7 separate regions of the Homo sapiens genome follow, and all the other regions are linked to region 1. Evidence: promoter capture Hi-C in 16 types of primary human blood cells and fetal thymus (Javierre and others, 2016). All regions are on one chromosome and are shown on one strand. Each heading gives the region's core, a stretch centred on a gene start or on the middle of the fragment in contact. The rest is flanking DNA. Distances are from core to core; before and after follow the strand shown.

Region 1 (2,700 bases), core at 179-2,678:
CATCCATAGTTTTGTTTATGCCATTTGCCACCTGAGATGTTTACCTTTTATTACTGAAATCTTATGCAAACCGCACTATCAAAATCTTTTCATTCTGCAAGACTTCCTTCTGGTCACCAAAAAAGACAAGTCAGTGAAAGGTGTTGACAGAGGAGGCCAACAAAACAGGCTCAGGCATTGGGCACAGCCCGTTGCTTTCTGTGCTATCCATCTGGGATCCCATGTGCCACGTGGTGGGGGAAGCTAATGAGGGGTCCAGGAGAGCAGGCCAAAGTCCTAGCAGAGCAGGTCTTCCCCACCCCCACCCCTCGTTTTATAAAAGGTGACTATACCTCAAAGTAACTAGAACTGGTTGCAAAGAGTAAAACGAATTCTTATTATTTGGGGTTGTCTGGGATACAGAAAGCTTTTCCTTTGATGCAAGTTTGGGCCAGTTTTTGGTGCTACTCAAGACTTCTCTCTGCCTCCAAGTTTTTTACATCTGAATATATACATATGTACATATGGCTTTGGCATGGCCGAGAAAAAGAATCGATAAGCAAATTCTTTTATGTACTTCCTATAAAAGATACGATACATAAGACAGTTTTTATTTTTTTTTTTTCTCTCTCTCTCTTCCCTAAACAGTCCCGAGGCCCCCTGGGTGCTGAAGGCAGCACCGCAGTGCAACGTGTCCTCTCTCGGTTCCATTTCTGGAGGAGCTGATGCAATTCCAAGGCGCGGGGCTGGGCCAGAGCTCGGTTCTTGTGCTACAGTAGAATAGTGTTCCAGCGTGGCTGCCTCTGCAGCGCCTGGCAATTCTAGAAATTTTGCCATCTGCAGCTCAGCTCAGGAATACTGAGCTTGCAGCCATCAGCTTTGAGTGCCATTATCTGAACCGGCCCTGCGTGCCAGTCTCGAGCGCTTACACCTCCCAGGCCGCCAACGAGGACCCTATTGACTTGATACTCCCCTCCTCCAGGAGACAGTCTCGGTTCCATATGGCTCCAGCTCTTGACCAGGGATCTCATGATTGAAGTGAAAAAGGAAAGGAAGCAGACTCTGTCCTCCTTACCAAGTGACTGTTCCCACCTTGCCATCCCAGCCAGACTTGACACGTCCAAAAACTGCATCCTCAGCCCCCTCCCGGCAGAAGACAATGGCCTGCGTGCCAGTTCCCATCCGGGACCCTCCCCAAGCCCTCCTCTGAGGTCTCTCTGTTTTTGTTTGTTTGTTTGTTTGTTTTAAACGCTGTCTTGGTGTTTAGCAAAGTCTAAGCATCGCTGCTCATCCCCAGCCCCACCGCCCCGGCCCTCCCGCCCCGGAGTCTGGAAACCAGGACAGGGTGACAGCCGGGACGCTCGCCCGGGCCGGACTCACCCGGCCAGTGGAGAAGCGCCGGAGCGCCTGGCTGCCCCGCCGCAGCATGCTGGAGAGGAGCGCTAGCACTGGCGACGCGGCAGCGCGGGAGGCAGGCGGGCGGCGCAGCCTGGGCGCGGCCTGGGCGCGGCCTGCAGTCTGGATGCCCCGGACTGCCTGGCTCGCGGCTCGCCGCTCTCGGCCTCTGCTAGTCCGCACCCCTCCCAAAGCCCACAGCCCGCGGCCCGCCCCACCCTACCAGCTGCAAGGCCCCGCCCCCTAGCTGTCAAGACCCCGCCCCCAGCTGGAAGGCCCCGCCCCGCCAGCTGGCTGCGTTCGGACAGCCAACCTGGTGCGACCCGGCGGAGCGCGTGGGCTTCCTGGAGCCTGTGGGCCCTGACCCTGGTGCCAAGAGCGCACCCAGTCCCAGGGACCGCGCCTCTCCGCTGCCTGGACTTTCCGCCAATTCCAGCCAAGGTCCAGGTGCTTTCTAACTGTGGGACCCTCTACCAGTTACTCAGCCCCGCAGCAGTGTATACGGATCTACCTTATTAGTGGTCAATCTGACATCCCAAGTGCTGTCCATAGCACAGCCCGTAAAAGGCACGCCTGTAGACAGATAGGTAGTGGGGGCGCCTTCGCTGTGGAGGGATCCTGATGCCTACCTCGTAGGACGGTAGGCCGGGCGCGGTGGCTCCCGCCTGTAATCCCAGCACTTTGGGAGGCCGAGGAGGGAAGATGGCCTGAGCTCAGGAGTTCGAGACCAGCCTGGCCACCATGGTGAAACCCCGTCTCTACTAAAAATAAAAAATAATAAAATAATAAAATAATTAGCCGGGCGTGATGTCGCATGCCTGCAGTCCCAGCTACTCGGGAGGCTGAAGCACGAGGATCACTTGAGCCGGGGAGGCGGAGGTTGCAGTGGAGCTGAGATCATGCCACTGCACTTCAGCCTGGACAACAGAGCGAGACTCTGTCTTAAAAATAAATAAATAAATTGGTGCAAAAGTAATTGTGGTTTTTGCCACTGAAAATAATGGCAAACCCGCAATTACTTTTGCATCAACCTAATAGATACGTGCCCTTCTCCCTCACCTCTCTGGAAAAAACGCTCAGACCTGCTTTAGCTGGACGTTTATCTCAAGCCAGACTTCTTAGCCCAGCATTCAGGGCCGTCTGCAATTTGCCATTTTCTCTTATTTCTCACTGCTCTTTTGCATATGTAATTCTGCTTGACTGCAGTTCTTGCCTATTCCTTCTTGGACAATGTTTCCCAGAAAAGCTTGTCATCTGTCACTTGTAATTATCTTGGCACGACCGTTTCTTTTCTGAAAGGTACCGCTTACATGCTGCCTCCTGGAG
Region 2 (2,700 bases), core at 79-2,578, 750 kb before region 1:
AGGGAAAGAGGAAACAATTACTTATGGAGTTAGAGCTGTAACAGCAATTGTTAGCAATTTGGGGTGATTCCTTTAATTTTTTTCCTATATAATTGTGATACTATGATACTGTACATTAAATTTTGTAACCCATGTTTATTTTTAAAATTATATTATTTATCACAACATCGAAGAACACTTGTTATGTCTTCATAATCAGTTTGCTCGTAAAAGGTAGCGAATCATGTTTTGAACTGAGGCTAGCAGCTGGAGGAAAAAAAAAATCCATTTAGTCAACCAGCAATTAAATTAGTAAGGATGCTGTCGTTCCACCCTTCCTTCCTCCTTTCCTTCCCTATCTCCTTCCTTCTTTCCTTCCCTATCTCCTTCCTTCATTGCTTTTAGTGAATAATGCCAAAGGAGGAAATGTCTTTTGGAAGCATTTAGCAAGAGAACTAGATAATTACCTTAATTGATCCTGGCACCTTATTTGTTTCTTGCCCAAGTTGTCATTCACAGTGGATAACAAGATAGTATTGAGTTTGGGTGTGTGTGTGTTTTCAATGTATGACAGCAGGTAATTAAATGGCTTATTTCTGTCATTCCCTTGCTCTTTTTTGTTATTAGTTAGGGTGTACTATTTTGAGGTAGAGATATACATAATTAAGGGATGAGCTTATAGCAAAAGTGCCTGACAGCAAGGAGTTGAAAGTCATTTACCTTTTGACCAGATTCCTATTTATTCCATGAATTTTATTATTTAATGAAAGTCTACTTATTAAAGAGTCTCTACTGTCTTTCACCATATATGTTTGACAGACTTAATGTTTAAAATAATGGGTCTAAATTTTGCTTTTGTATCTTCTTAGGTTTACCATAGTTACTTTTGGCCATTGGAATGGACGATTCCGTCAAGAGATAACAACAAATGTTATGCAAAAATAATCTGTAATACTAAAGACAATGTAAGTTTAATTCTCAATCCTTTCCAGTAATTTTATTTAGTTGTTGTTTTTTGTTGTTGTTTTTTTTTTAGATGGAGTCTTGCTCTGTTGCCCAGGCTGGAGTGCAGTGGCGCTATCTCTGCTCACTGCAACCTCCGCCTCCCGGGTTCAAGTGATTCTCCTGCCTCAGCCTCCCAACTAACTGGGATTACAGACTTGCGCCACCACACTGGCTAATTTTTGTAGACGGGGGTTTCACCATGTTGGCCAGGCTGGTCTTGAACACCTGACCTCGTAATCTGCCTGTCTCGGCCTCCCAAGGTGCTGGAATGTACAGGCGTGAGCCACCATACCCGGCTTTAGTTTTTAATATATAGCTTAGTTGGTCACATGGTGCAGATGGCATTCCTTCAGTATTTCGCGTGCCAGTTGTCTCAGCTGATAGATATCAGCAGCTGGCAAGGACCTTGGCTGCACTGCCTGCTGCCCCCTCATCTTCACTGGCACAGGGCCCTACACTTAGTCAACAGGCAGCCAAAACTTACTGAGTGAAGGAACCAAAGGCACAACTTGAGAACTGTCTATGTTTGTGTTTATAGAAGAGGAACAATAAAGTCATCGACTATCTAAATATAATGAATAACAAAAAAGAACAGGAGCAATGCACGTTTGATCCTCAGCAGCTGGCACTACTAAGAAAGAGCTCTTAATTGAGTTCTAAGATTTCATTGCCTGATGCTACATGTAATGCTAGTCTGGTGTTATTACGTGTAAATCTAATGTATTTTAAGTGCTTTTTAGTAGTCCTCCCACAGATATACTTTATTCATACCATAAACCCCCAACTGTCCAGGTGAATAAGAGTACAATATGCAATATATTACAGTCCTTTTTTTTTTTTTTTTTTTGAGACGGAGTCTTGCTCTGTTGCCCAGGCTGGAGTGCAGTGGCGTGATCTTGGTTCACTGCAACCTTCGCCTCCCAGGTTCAAGTGATTTTCCTGCCTCAGCCTCCCAAGTAGCTGGGATTACAGGCACCCACCACCATGCCCAGCTATTCTGTATTTTTAGTAGAGACGGGGTTTCACCATGTTGGCCAGGCTGGTCTCGAACTCCTGACCTCAGGTGATCCGTCTGCCTTGGTCTCCCAAAGTGCTGGGATTACAGGTGTGAGCCACCGCGCCCGGCCTATTACAGTACTTTTTTAGCAGAAACCTGTGAAAGCCTGTGAGCAAACTCTATACCTCACAGGGTTTTTTTCCATATATATGAAATGAGGGATTGGATAATTCATATTTTTTAAAGTTTTTTGACTGTGGGACACTGGTATATTCATATACACACACTCTCTTTAATATTGACTCTTAAGAAAACTGATCTTTTTAACTTAGCTAACACTTTTTAAAGAAACGACCTCAGTAAAAATATAAATGATGTTAAAGAATCTGTATGTTAAAAGCCTAGTAAACTGATAATGTTTTAATCTTGAAATTTGAATATAATTAAGCCATGTATCCTATTTGGAAACTACTGCTTTAGGCAGTAGGACAGTTACAGGTTGGTTTTTTGGTAAAACCAAGGGTTTTAGAAAACATTTTCTTGAATCCTCTGCAAAAAAGATTCAAATGAATATACTAGGATAACCCATAATGAGCTACACAGCTAACATAAATAACAATTGTATATATAGTTGTCTTTTTCTTTTTAGGCAAATTTTCTCAAAAGTTTATTTATATGAGTATACATTAGATATCACTTTTACTGCAGACAAAAGGAGA
Region 3 (2,700 bases), core at 198-2,697, 840 kb before region 1:
CCTTTTTGACTTTTGCTTGAAATGTTGCTGATCCTTGTTTTGTTTTTCAGAGTCAAGGAAACTTATTTTGAACTATTTACAGCCTTAAAAAAAAAGATGTTGTGGGTTTTTCATAGATGACCTTTATCAGGTAGAAAAGTTTCCTTTTATTCCTAGTTTGTTGAGTGTTTTTTATCATGAAAGGGTGTTAGACTCTGTCAAATGTTTGTATCTGTTGAAATAACTGTGTGGTTTTCATTCTTTATTCTATTAATATGATGTATTGCATTGATTGATTCTCATATGTTTAATCAACCTGTGCAAGGTTTATCCTGGGATAAATTTCACTCAGTTGTGGTGTATAAAATTTTTATATATTGCTGGATTTGGTTTGTTAATGTTTTGTGGATAATTTTTTTTGTCTATATTTACAAAGGGCATTGGTCTGTGGTTTTCTTTTCTTTTTTTTTGCGACAGAGTCTTGCACTGTTGCCCAGGCTAGAGTGCAATGGTGTGATCTCAGCTCACTGCAACCTTTGCCTCCCGGGTTCAAGTGATTCTCCTGTCTCAGCCTCCCAAGTAGCTGGGATTACAGATGCCCGCCACCACACCCTTTTCATGTGATGCCCTTGTCTGGTTTTGGAATCAGGGTAATACCAATCTCATAGAATGAATTGGAAAGTATCCCCTCCTCTTCTGTTTTTGGAAAGAGTGTGAAAAATTGCTGATAATTCTGTGTTAGACGTTTGGGAGAATTTATCAGCAACAATCATCTGAGCCTGGGCTTTTCTTTGTGGGAATTTTTTTTTTTTTTTTGAGACGGAGTTTCGCTCTTGCTCCACAGGCTGGAGTACAATGGCGCGATCTCGGCTCACTGCAACCTCTGCCTCCTGGGTTCAAGCGATTCTTCTGTCTCAGCCTCCTGGGTAGCTGGGATTACAGGCGTGTGCCACTACAACCGGCTAATTTTTTGTCTTTTTAGTAGAGACAGGGTTTCACCATATTGGTCAGGCTGGTCTCAAACTCCTGACCTCAGATGATCCTCCTGCCTCGGCCTCACGAAGTACTGGGATTACACGTGTGAGCCACTGCACCTGGCCAAGAGTTTTTATTGCTAATTCAATCTCTTGTCTATTCAAGATTATAAGTCTATTTAGCTTCTCATTCCTTTTTTTTCCCTAGACTCAAGTGATTCTCATGCCTCAGCCTCCCAAGTAACTGGGATTACAGGTATGTGCCACCATGCCTGGCTAAATTTTGTATTTTTAGTAGAGTCAGGGGTTTCACCTTGTTGGCCATGCTGGTCTCCAACTCCTAGCCTCAGGTGATCCACCCACCTTGGCCTCCCAAAGTGCTAGGATTACAGGCATGAGCCACCACACCCAGCCTCATTTCTTCTTGACTCAGTTTGGGTAATCATGTCTTTCTAGGAATTTGTTCATTTCATGTAGATTATCTAATTCGTTGGCATATAATTGAATTTTTTATACTGTTAATATGAGCAGTCTAAACCAGCCTTGCATTCCCAGGACAAACCCCACTAGCTCGTGGAATATTATTATTCCTTTTATATATTGCTGGATTCAATTTGCCATTATTTTGTTGAAGAATTTTGCATCTTTGTTTATGAGGGATATTGATTTACAGTTTCCTTTTCTTGTACTGTCTCTGTCTAGTTTGAGTATCAGGATGCTACTGACCTCATAAAATAAGTTTGAAAATGGCCCCTCCCCTTGTATTTTCTGGACAAGATTGTATAGATTGGTAGGGTATCTTTTATTAAGTTTTATTTTCCTCCAGATATCCTGTTTGTAGGTGTGTGTGAGAAACAGAAAATGTTACTGAATCAGAGAGAGTCTAAGTACCATTGTTTTCTGCAGTTTTCTCTTAAACCTTGGGGTTAAAAGAAATCTGTTGAAATACAGTGTAACCACATGTCTTATTTCTCAGCTTTTTGTGAGAGATCTCAACTGGGAAGATTGAGGTAGTTTCTTTTAAGCCCTGTTGTTGGTCACATTGACTGAACATTTTAGTGAACTAGGATTACTCCACTTACTGGATATTCTTAATACTAAGGTAACAATATGAAAAAAGAACATATTTTCTGTATATATGTATAAAGCATATTTAGTGAAATTGTGAGAGTTATTGGTCTAGTATAGGCAAGAGAACTTTTTAGCTTAATTGAGTTCTCAACTGGTATATAGTATGTGTTTATATGAAGGATCAGTTTAGTAATTGTCCACAGATTCCTTTTATATTTTAATGACTGTAATTCAGGTTTTACAATCAGAAAAAGCACCTACATTGTCTTCTGTGTATATGTTTTTTGTCCAGAAAAGGTATCTTTGTGGAATTTTTTTTTTTTTTTGGAGTGTTGCTCTGTCACCCAGGCTGGAGTGCAATGGCACTATCTCGACTCACTGCAACTTCTGCCTCCTGGGTTCAAGCGATTCTCTTGCCTCAGCCTCCTGAGTAGCTGGGACTACAGGCGCCCGCCACCATGCCTGGCTAATTTTTGCATTTTTAGTAGAGATGGGGTTTCACCGTGTTAGCCAGGATGGTCTCGATCTCCTGACTTCGTGATCCGCCCGCCTCGGCCTCTCAAAGTGTTGGGATTACAGGCATGAGTCACTGCGCCCAGTTTTTTTTTTTCTTTTTTTGAGACAGAGTCTCACTCTGTCGCCCAGGCTGGAGTGCAGTGGCATGGTCTCGGCTCAC
Region 4 (2,700 bases), core at 134-2,633, 800 kb before region 1:
AGCTAATGACTGAATCATGGGGATTGAGGAGAAGTTTGGGTGAGATGAAGGGGTGGAAGGACCACAAAGGGCCTTGTAGAAAGAAGATGAAGAAGCAGAGAGGCTTAGTAACTTGGCTTTGCAGTTAGTAATAGAACCTGGATTTGACTTCAAAGTCTACACTGCATAATAAGGGTATATTCAACAGACTTTGGTTCTGCAATTATCTCTTTTTGCTCCTTCTTTGGAAATTGCCAAAGTTCCCTCTACTGGATTATTCCTTTAGCATAAAAACATGCTGTAATAATTTCCTTCTTAGACAAACCAAAAAAACCAAAAAGTCTGGCCAGGCACGGTGGCTCACCCCTGTAATCCCAGCACTTTGGGAGGCCGAGGAGGGTGGATCACGAAGTCAGGAGTTGAAGACCAGCCTGGCCAACATGGTGAAACCCTCTCTCTACTGAAAATACAAAAATTAGCTGGGTGTGGTGGCATGCACCTGTAGTCCCAGCTACTCGAGAGGCTGAGGCAGGAGAATTGCTTGAACCCAGGAGGCAGAGGTTGCAATGAGCTGAGATCGTGCCTCTGCACTCCAGCCTGGGTGACAGAGTGAGACTCTGTCTCAAAAAAAAAAAAAAAAAAAAATTCCTCTATCCTACATCCCTCTTTAGCTCCTTTCCTATTGTTGTTTTGTTTTGTTTTGTTTTTATAGCAAAACCCCTTTAAGAGTTGCCTATACTTACTCCCTCCATTTCCTTATTTTCTGTTTCTTGCTGAACTTCTTCTAATTAGGATTTCTTACCTACCACCATTTTCATAAGTGACCTCCATGACTCAGCCCTTACCTTATAGGATTTCTTGGCAGTGCTTGAAATAGTTGATCTTCCTTTTTGGAGCACTTCTTCATTGGCTTCTGAGACACCACACAGTCTTGGTTTTCCTCCTACCTCCTGCCAGCTCCTTCTTAGGCTCCATTGCTGGGTTCTTTTCCCCTTTTGCAGTTTGAGCGTGCCAGGGCTCTGTCCTGGGCCATCTTTATTTCTCTAAATACATTAACTCCTGGGTAATTTCATCTAGTCCCATGGAGTGACAGTTAATTTTATGTGTCAACTTGGCTAGCATACGGTGCCCAGTTGTTTGGCAGATAAAAGCATAGATGTTGCTGTGAAGGTATTTTTTAGATGTGACTTACAATGAAATCAGTAGGCTTTGAGTAAAGCTAGTGACCCTCCATAATGTGGATGGGCTTCATCCAATTAGTTGAAGACCTTAGAGAAAAGATGGAGGTTTCCCAAAGAGGAAGCAATTCTGCACCCAGACCACCGTTAGTCTCAAGATTGCCACATCAATGCCTGCTTGAATTTCCAGCCTATCAGCCAGCCTTGGAGTTTTCAGACTTATCAGCCCTCACAACTGTGTGAGTCAATTCTTTAAAAAAAAGAAAAGAAAAAAATCTCTCTATATATACATGTATCCTATTGGTTCTGTTTCTCTGAAGAGCTGTGACTAATACACATGGTATTAAATATCTTTTATGTTTGACACCAAATGTTTATTTCTAGCCTTGACTTCTCCCTTGAACTCCATACTTACATATCCAACTGCTTAGTCAACCTCTCCATTTGGATAATAATAGATCTGTTAACCCATACTATGGATTTGTCCCAAACTATTGTTTTCCCCCACCTCCCATCTTTCTTCCTCCTCTCTGGGTGTTCCTGCTTTTCATTGAAGAGTGCTATTATTTACCCCATTGCTAAAGCCAGAAATCTAGCGTTATCATTGATTCTCTTTCTCTTACATCTCTTATTCCATCCATCTGTACAACTGTACAACATATATCTGTGCAATTAGCTTTACCTTCAAATGTATTTTTTAACCTCACTAATCAGCCTTTATCATCTCTAGCTTGGACCAGGACAGTAACTTCCTAGCAGGTCTGTATATCTCCATATCTCCACTTTTTTTTTTTTTTTTTTTCTTTTTGAGATGGAGTCTCACTGTGTCGCCCGGGCTGGAGTGCAGTGGTGGGATCTCGGCTCACTGCAAACTCCGCCTCCCGGGTTCACGCCATTCTCCTGCCTCAGCCTCCCCAGTAGCTGGGACTACAGGCGCCTGCTACCACGCCCGGTTAATTTTTTGTATTTTTAGTAGAGATGGGGTTTCACTGTGTTAGCCAGGCTCATCTCAATCTCCTGACCTCGTGATCCGCCCGCCTCAGCCTCCTGAAGTGCTGGGATTACAGACATGAGCCACCGAGCCCGGCCATATCTCCACTTTTAAGTCCCTGCCCTCCTTAGCCTATTTTCCACACAACTGAGCAATTATTTTATCATACAACAATCATTTCCTTCTCTTCTCTTCACACTCTGGCATCTTACCACATTTAAAATGAAATCCAAAATCCTGACTATGGCCTGATGATGGATGTGACCCCTGGCTATTCCTCTGACCTCACTTCCTACCACTTTTTTTCTCACTCATTAGGCTTTAGACATACTGGTTACTTTGTGGATTCTTGGATAAGTCAAGCAGACTCCTAGCTTAGGGCTTTAGTATGTTGAAGCCAGAATAAAAATGTGAGACAAGTCTCTAAATTAAAATTTTTTATTTGGAAAGAAAGAATAGCAATTTGGGGCATATATGCAGACAGGGTGGTCTTCAGTATGTCTGAAGAACAAAGAGAAGGTTAGAGGTTTTAGAAACAGGAGAGCTGTTACA
Region 5 (2,700 bases), core at 53-2,552, 920 kb before region 1:
CATGCTGAGATTTTGCAGTGAGAGAAAGGAGGGCATTTATTTGCAGTGTGCCATGCAAGGAGAATCTGGCAGTTCATGCTCAAGATCTGACCTCTGCAAGCCAAGGGTTTTTAAAGGTACAGGTAAATTTCAGGAAAGCAGAAGTTACAGGCAAAATTGTAAACCAATACTTGGAGGTTAAACATCAGTTTGGCCTAAAAAGGCAGGATATCCTCAACCAAGGGCTTACAGGTCATGGGTCAATTAAAAGATTTTCTGATTTGCAATTGGTTAGGGAAGGAAAGCTTCATCTAAAGACTTGGGGTCATCAGAAAACAATGTTAGGTCTGGCCCATGGGCGTGACTTCCTCCTGGCCCCTGAGGAAGAAATTTAGAACAAAGAATGGCAGCCAGAGTTCAGTCCTCAGTGTTCTCCCCTTATCTGAGGTCCGTGTGCCAGTGGATCCATTTGGCAGGGGTCTGGATTTCTAAAGAACAACTCAGGGCTATTTGTTAACATGTTATCTTTAGTTTCTATAGAGAACCAAACATCTCATGACTCTAACTTCCTTGGCTATTGTTTTAAGCTACTATTACCTTTTTGCTTATTAAGTTGCTCATTTACTTCTCAGGGCTAGCTAGGTTCCCAGGATTTCCCTTAAATGAACTCAAGATTTGCCTTTATTTCCATGCTTGAGGGTGCCTAGCAGGGACCTCTGTTCCTTCTCAATAGCTGATTGGCTGGAAGCACTAATCACAACCTTGGGCTTGCAACTGGCATCTAAAGCAGTCTTATGGGACTGGGTCCTCAACCCATGGGATCTGATGCTATCTCTAGATAGTGTCAGAATCGAATGGAATTATAGGATGCAAAGCTGGTGCCTGACGAGAATTCCTTGGTGTATGGAGAAAAACCCACACACATCTGGTGTCAGAAGTGAAGTATTAAGTGGTGTGAGTAGAGAGAAAAACCACTGAGTAGACAAAGTGGTTTAGGCTGCTGGGAGAGGACTGCTTGTCTGTCGGCCAGGACATTTCTCAGCTGGACTAGTGAGATGATTACTTTATTCTCTTAAACCTCCAAGGCTCAGATGATGCCGTGCATGACTCCAGGGAGCACCATTCACTTAGACTATAGTGAATAGCACCCCCTGCAGCTGTGCAACATGGTGGCTCAGGCCAGTTTATACACCTGTCATATTCTCTCTCTCCACTTTATCCCCACCACCACCCCGTACGACCACCACCATGCTCAGAAAACCCTTGCCTAGCACGCTCCTGGACTATTCATGTCAAAACAACTGTGGGAAATGATGCAAATAGCAACATTAATATCCACAAGCTAAAATACAGCATGGCTTCATTTTCTTCTTGTTTCCTTTCTCCGTGATATCAAGTTGTGTTTCTGCCTGTGAGAAAGACACTCACCCATCCAGTCCCAAAGAATGGACTTACAGGCACGAAGAACAGCAAAAGTGAGACTTTTTTTTTTTTTTTTTTTTGAGATGGAGTTTCACTCTTGTCACCCAGGCTGGAGTGAGTGCAGTGGCACAATCTTGGCTCACTGCAACCTCTGCCTCCCGGTTCAAGCAATTCTCCTGCCTCACCCACCCGAGTAGCTGTGATTACAGGCACCTGTCACCACGCCCAGCTAATTTTTGTATTTTTAGTAGAGATGGGGTTTCACCATGTTGGCCAGGCTGGTCTCGAGCTCCTGACCTCAGGTGATCCACCTGCCTCAGCCTCCCAAAGTGCTGGGATTACAGGCGTGAGCCACCATGCCCGGCCTCCAGTGGTATTTCTGGATCCAGCTTCTGTGTGGTGACCAACTGGGTGTGACAATAGCTCAGTTAGTGAGCAATAGAAAATAATGGAAAGACTCACACACAGTCAGCCCACAAATTCCTGCAACACCAGAGGCAGACAGGTTATAGGATACTGGGTTCCCTTATGTTCCTAAGTCATCTTATTGTGTGTCTTATTTTCCACTTGAGGCTGTTCTTTGTGGTAATTTTAATATGACTTATCTTGCCTTAAACATTTAGAGTTGGAAGGAAGGGACAGAATGTATTTTGCCCTGGGCCCTCACCTGCTGGGGAGGACTACTAGCCACAAACCCTCCCTAAAGATAACTGTGAGCACAGGGTAAGCATGCATTCCAAGCGTGACTTAATGAGAACTCTGTAATGTACCAAGAAATAAAAAGATAAGCATAGACTGACACAAAGATCAAAAGGGCAGATGAACTGTCAACTTCCAAATCAGTTTTTCCTCCAAAACATATGTTTAAAAATCTTTACTGGTAACAAGCCTGAAGGATTTTGATTTTGTGATCTCATATGTAAGCTTATCACCAACTCTGAAGGCTTAGGTCTGCTGGCATGGGTTCCATCCTTCCTTAGTGAATAAAGTACCACTTGTTGAATTGCCTCTATTGGTTCCTGGAGTGCCTCTGAGTTCTTGGAGGTCTCTGGAATTCAAGAGTCTGTTCAGTCCAATACAGCTTAGGGCAGGGGACCCCAACCACTGGGCCATGGACCAGTACTGGTTCACAGCCTGTTAGGAACCGAGAAGCACAGCAGGAGCCGAGCAGCACAGCAGGAGGTGTACAGCAGGCAAGTGAGCAAAGCTCACCTGTATTTACAACTGCTCCCTAATGCACACATTACCACCTGAGCTCTGCCTCCTGTCGGATCAGCAGTGGCATTAGATTCTCATAGG
Region 6 (2,700 bases), core at 130-2,629, 780 kb before region 1:
ATATTTTTCTGGGGCCGGGCGCAGTGGCTCACACCTGTAATCCCAGCACTTTGGGAGGCTGAGGCAGGTGGATCACGAGATGAGGAGTTTGAGACTAGCCTGGCCAACATGGAGAAACCCCATCTCTACTAAAAATACAAAACTTAGCTGGGCGCGGTGGCACACACGTGTAATCCCAGCTACTCGGGAGGCTGAGTCAGGAGAATCACTTGAACCCGGGAGGCGGAGGTTGTAGTGAGCTGAGATCACACCATTGCACTCTAGCTTGGGCAACCAAGCGAGACTCTATCTAAAATAAAAATAAAAAATAAAAAAAATTAAATTTTTTTCTGTTCCTAAAGCAACATTCAGAAGTGAAACTACTGGTTTGTATACAGTTTTTTTTTTTACATTTGCTATCTTTGGGATTGTTTGATTTATTAAGTACCTACTCAGTAGTTGAAAACACTGTCAGATATATTACATAATTTTCATTCACTGTAGTAATTATATGGTATAAATACAGTTGTCCCTCGGTATCTTCAGGGGATTGGTTCCAGGACCCTTGTGTATACCCAAATTCATACATACTCAAGTCCCAAAGTCCACCCTGTGGAACCAGCATATATGGAAAGTCAGCTCTCTGTATTCACCGGATGTGAAACATCACATCTCACAAATACAGTATTTATTTCTTTATTTCTCACAAGCTTTTTCCTCTTTAAGGAGCAGGCAGACCTGTATTTTTTATTGCTTTTGGTATAAGTGGATCTGTGCAATTCAAAGCTGTTTCCTTCAAGGGTCAACTGCAGTAGTATTCCCGTCTTATAAATAAAGACACTGGAGGCTGAGAGGTTAAGCAAGCTGGCTAAGATAATACTAATAGGTAATAGGTCAAGATTGGAACCCAGATCGTCCCCTCCCACAGTCTGTGGTCTTTTCAGAAACTAATTTTCATTAAAAAAAAAAATACAGATATCTGTCTTATCATAGCAAAGTTCACCTTTAATAATAACAAAACACAAAATATATACACACAAACATAACTTTAAAGAAAATTACGATGAAAGAGAAACTGCCAGGCACAGTGGCTCACGCATGTAATCCCAGCATTTTGGGAGGCTGAGGCGGGCGGATCACGAGGTCAGGAGTTCGAGACCAGCCTGGTCAACATGCTGAAACCCTGTCTCTACTAAGAATACAAAAATTAGCCAGGCGTGGTGACTCGTGCCTGTAATCCCAGCTACTCGGGAGGCTGAGGCAGGAGAATCACTTGAGTCCGGGGGGTGTAGGTTGCAGTGAGCCGAGATCGTGCCATTGCACTCCAGCCTGGGTGACAAGAACAAGACTCCGTCTCAAAAAAAAAAAAAAAAAAGTTAAGATGAAAGAGAAACTATACCTAATGTCCTGCTAATTCTGGCAAATCAAACTAGGAATTTTACCACATTTCTTCACAACTCAATATTAAACAGAAGCCATGGTGGTATGAAGGGAGAAAAGCTGCTATGAAAGAAGGAACAGAAAAGTTTAGGGAGGTAGCTATTAGGATAAGTGTATATGTTAGAGTGTGGGACTCAAACCTGACTGATTCCTGGCTTTGGCTCCAAAAAGTCTCTTAAAAATCCATTTGTTATAGGTAAGTGTTAACAGCAAAACCTCACTGGAGAAAAATAGTGGACTCGTGACTTCTTCCTTTATTTGGTTACAGGGAGACATGTGACCTTTGTCATCCACCCTATCACGTTTGTGTTGAGCAGTATGGGTTGTGGGAAAGAGCTCAAGAATGCTTGGAATTAACCTAAACTCCTAGAAAAGGAACTGAAAATATAGGAGAAAAGGGTGAAGAAAAGAGGAAAGGAAATGGAGGTCTGTATTGAACCCTGGGTAGCAACTCTTGAGCGAAGAAAGAGGAAAAAGGGGAAAGAGGGGAGCTAAATTATCTCTGAGGCAACTCAGTCTCATGGTTGCCTGAACTAGTCTATACTGCGGGAATAAGGTAGACGCCACTGGTTTCTTTGAAGTACCAGTGCGCTTCTTGCTTTCTATTCCTGGTCACAGACAAATTTATCAGTAGTGCAGTTTCTTCTTTTTAAGCTTCATTTAAATAATTATTAGTAGCACTTGGACCTTAGGTTAGGAAATCACTGTTTAATGACTTAAAGATTAACCGGCATGGAAATCCCATTCTTTATATGATTGGGGAGAGTTATTGAACTTGAGATTGTTTTACTTTGTAGCAATGTCTAAAGGCAGATTTGTTTTGTTTTGTTTTGTTTTTGAGGCGGGGTTTCGCTCTTGTTGCCCAGGCTGGAGTGCAATGGTGCAATCTTGTCTCACCCGCAACCTCTGCCTCCCAGGTTGAAGTAGCAGGGATTACAGGCATGTGCCACCACGCCCAGCTAATTTTCTATTTTTAGTAGAGACGTGGTTTCTCCATATTGATCAGGCTGGTCTCAAACTCCTGACCTCAGGTGAGCCACCCACCTCGGCCTCCCAAAGTGCTGGGATTACAGGTGTCAGCCACCGCACCTGGCCTAAAGGCAGATTTTTAAAGGTGGAACATAATGCAAGTCTGCCTTTCTTAGGATGATCTAAGTTACATGTTAATAAAGTTCTTGGAGATCTAGCATAGAATGCATTCAGCACTGTAAATCACAACTTAATGTTTGCCTCGATATGCTCTGTTGCTCTGAGCAAGTTGTGTGGGCTGTTATCTCCTGA
Region 7 (2,700 bases), core at 169-2,668, 940 kb before region 1:
AGTCAAATCCTGTCACTCCACTGCTCAAAAATCCCCTATTAACTCCTCATTTCTCTCAAAGTAAAAGACAAAGACTTTCCAGTGGCCTTGTAAGACAGAGTGGCAAGTTCCTTCATTCCAAATTGAGCAACAAAAAGATACTGATTGTTCTTTGGTCATAGTGACAAGAAACAACCAGAATCTGTTTTAATCAATCAATAACAATCTCCTGATCAGTGACTTGCTTCTGAAAATTAGCCAATCAGCAACAGCCACACTCTAGTAATCCTTCTTCCACATCTAAAGTTCAACTCATCTCTAAACAGTCCAGCTTCTAAGAGTTCCCCAACCTCCGAACCCCATGCTTCCCAAAACACTGTATAAGATTCACAGATTCCTTTGTTCAGAGACACTGTCTTACAAGTACTGCTGTCCTCTGGTTAGCAAGAAATATGTTCAGCACTTAATTGTTGCAGACGTGAATGGTGGCCTCTTCACTGGGCAACAACCTATGGGATCTTTGATCTATTCCCTTTCCGCTCCCCCTCTACCCTCATCTCCTCCTACCTTTTCCTTTGCTAATTGCACTCCTTGCAGTCCTTATTTCTGCCAGGAATGCTCCTGCCTCAGGGGCTCTGCACTGGCTGTTCCATCTGCCTAGTACATTCTCCCTCAGATAGCCACATAGCTCACTCCCTCACCTCCTTCCATGTCTTAATGGGGCCAGCCCTGATCACTTATCTAAAAATTGCAATTCCAACTCCCTACCCCCACTCAGCTATAACCCTCTAACATATTATATAGTTTCCTTATTTGTTATGTTTATGATTTATTGTCTGTCTCTTCCCACTAAAATGTAAGCCCTATGAGGACAAGGAATTTGGCTTGTTTTGTTTACCAATGCATCCCACACATCTAAAATAGTGTCCAGCATTCAGTTGGTACTCAATATTTGTTGAATGAATGGACTTTGAATGTTTCACCTTTTTAGAATATAAACTCCTTTAGTGCAAAGACCTTGTGTTCACCATTGTATTCTCAGAGCCTAAAACAGTGCCTGGCACATAGTAGGGGCTTCATAAGTATGTACTAAATGAATGCATGCACAGGTATGGTATAAAATTGTTTTAATTGATAATATAAATGACCCTGAGATTACCAAAGCCTTATGTGCCATCTTCCTCCACAGAAACACAGTTAATGAACACATTTAAAATTCCTCACATTATTATGATGTGTTAATCAAAAAATCCAAAACATATTCATCACTATTTCCCCAGGTATTGGGTAAGTTAATATACAAAGATGACTAAAAAATCCTTGATCAGCTTGAAAAAGCAGCAAGATCACTCTCGTTTCTAGGGCTGCTGAGGCTGAGGACAGGAGGAAATCCTTGTCTCTGATAGGAAAGAAGGGCAGAGAACATTCTTTTCTCATTTCCTTTATTTTTTTGCTTAAACTCTTGGGTCATTTCCAAACTGGTGTCCCTGTCCATTTAATATAACATGGCCATATTAATCTTCCTGAAAACTTGTTTTCTTAATCCTACATATGAATGCCAGGTCATAGAAAACATAGTTCTTATTGTGTTGTTACCTTTTAAAAAAATCATGAAAACAGCTCTCATCTATTATATAGTTACTACATATCAGGAACTCTGCTAAATGCTACCTGCATGTTTTCTCATTTCAGCCACACAATGACCTTATGAAATAGGTGTTATTTGCCCAACTCAAAAGACATGAAAACAAGCTCATAGTTTAAGAAACCAAGAAGTCACACAGCTGGAAACCAAGCCTCAAACCTGGCCCCAGTCCCTCTTATAAAAAAAAAAAAAAACTATTTATTCAAAGGGTCCCCATAGACTTTTCTCTAAAGAAGATACACAGATGGCCAACAAGCATATGCCAAGATGTTCAACATCATTAGTCATAAGGGAAATTCAAATCAAACCACAGTGAGATATCACTGCACACCCACCTAGATGGCCAGAATCAGAAAGATCGATAGTAACAAGTGTTGTCAAGGATATGGTGAAACTGGAACCTTCACACACTGCTGGTGGGAATGTAAAGTGGTACAGCCACTGTGGAAAACAGTCTGGTTGTTCCTCAAATAGCTAAACATAAAAGTTACCATTTGACCCAGCAATTCCACTCCTGGTGTATGCCCAAGATAAATGAAAATATATATCCATACAAAAACATATACATTTATGGCAGCTTTCTTCTTTTATTTTTATTTATTTATTTATTTCGAGACAGAGTTTCGCTCTTGTTGCCTAGGCTGAAGTGCAATGGCACGGTCTCAGCTCACTGCAACCTCCACCTCACAGCTTCAAGTGATTCACCTGCCTCAGCCTCCCAAGTAGCTGGGCAAATATGATATATCAATGCAATGGAATATCATTTGGCCATAAAAACAAATGAAGCTCTAATATATGCTACAACATGGATTAACCTTGAAATCATTATCTAAGTAAAAGGAGTCAGACACAAAGGACCACAGATTATATGATTTCATTTATATTAAATATCTAGAATAGTCAAATCCATAGAGAGAGAAGGCAGATTATTCTTTGGTGGGGGGCTAAGGGAGGAGATGGGAGAGCCCGAGGTGTGATAGCTAAAAGGTATAGAGTTTCTCTGTGAGGTGATGAAAATGTTCTAAAATTGTGAGGGCCGGGCACAATGGCTCACACCTGTAATGCCAACATTTTGG

Evidence for each region. Contacts are between HindIII fragments. The CHiCAGO score rates a contact against its expected background, and 5 or more counts as called.
Region 2: a fragment that was not itself captured here is called in contact with the fragment with the promoter of ALDH1L2 in region 1 in 5 of 17 cell types (total B cells, naive B cells, neutrophils and 2 more); the score reaches 7.9 in total B cells.
Region 3: a fragment that was not itself captured here is called in contact with the fragment with the promoter of ALDH1L2 in region 1 in 1 of 17 cell types (activated CD4 T cells); the score reaches 5.0 in activated CD4 T cells.
Region 4: the fragment with the promoter of TXNRD1-AS1 here is called in contact with the fragment with the promoter of ALDH1L2 in region 1 in 5 of 17 cell types (neutrophils, M1 macrophages, M0 macrophages and 2 more); the score reaches 6.2 in neutrophils.
Region 5: a contact is called between a fragment that was not itself captured here and the fragment with the promoter of ALDH1L2 in region 1, in 15 of 17 cell types (naive B cells, total CD8 T cells, total B cells and 12 more). The highest score is 11.5, in naive B cells.
Region 6: a fragment that was not itself captured here is called in contact with the fragment with the promoter of ALDH1L2 in region 1 in 1 of 17 cell types (total B cells); the score reaches 5.1 in total B cells.
Region 7: a contact is called between a fragment that was not itself captured here and the fragment with the promoter of ALDH1L2 in region 1, in 5 of 17 cell types (naive CD8 T cells, monocytes, non-activated CD4 T cells and 2 more). The highest score is 7.9, in naive CD8 T cells.

What each region holds. Positions count from the first base shown.
Region 1 is chr12:105,083,030-105,085,729 of GRCh38, forward strand. It overlaps ALDH1L2 (aldehyde dehydrogenase 1 family member L2), which reads right to left and starts at 1,429. Exons shown (of 23, transcript NM_001034173.4): 1 at 1,360-1,429. The coding sequence starts at 1,407. RefSeq lists enhancers at 272-1,072, 567-806 and a silencer at 1,307-1,736. The HindIII fragment of the contact is 2,214 bases long and covers 405-2,618 here.
Region 2 is chr12:104,333,389-104,336,088 of GRCh38, forward strand. TXNRD1 (thioredoxin reductase 1) reads left to right here. Exons shown (of 17, transcript NM_001093771.3): 15 at 849-944. Among named protein-coding and RNA genes, the nearest start is that of EID3, 31 kb to the left of the region's middle. The HindIII fragment of the contact is 3,413 bases long and covers 1-2,700 here.
Region 3 is chr12:104,238,416-104,241,115 of GRCh38, forward strand. All of the region lies in intron 1 of TXNRD1 (thioredoxin reductase 1), which reads left to right. Among named protein-coding and RNA genes, the nearest start is that of TXNRD1, 24 kb to the left of the region's middle. The HindIII fragment of the contact is 7,102 bases long and covers 1-2,700 here.
Region 4 is chr12:104,279,460-104,282,159 of GRCh38, forward strand. TXNRD1-AS1 (TXNRD1 antisense RNA 1) reads right to left here and starts at 1,384. Exons shown (of 2, transcript XR_007063431.1): 1 at 825-1,384. All of the region lies in intron 3 of TXNRD1 (thioredoxin reductase 1), which reads left to right. RefSeq lists a silencer at 2,612-2,700. The HindIII fragment of the contact is 3,745 bases long and covers 1-2,700 here.
Region 5 is chr12:104,165,611-104,168,310 of GRCh38, forward strand. No RefSeq gene overlaps it. Among named protein-coding and RNA genes, the nearest start is that of LINC02385, 3.0 kb to the right of the region's middle. The HindIII fragment of the contact is 2,041 bases long and covers 283-2,323 here.
Region 6 is chr12:104,298,432-104,301,131 of GRCh38, forward strand. All of the region lies in intron 4 of TXNRD1 (thioredoxin reductase 1), which reads left to right. Among named protein-coding and RNA genes, the nearest start is that of EID3, 4.0 kb to the right of the region's middle. RefSeq lists an enhancer at 2,567-2,700. The HindIII fragment of the contact is 1,384 bases long and covers 688-2,071 here.
Region 7 is chr12:104,142,159-104,144,858 of GRCh38, forward strand. The region is part of intron 1 of LOC105369947 (a long non-coding RNA gene); the gene reads left to right. Among named protein-coding and RNA genes, the nearest start is that of NFYB, 5.3 kb to the left of the region's middle. The HindIII fragment of the contact is 3,300 bases long and covers 1-2,700 here.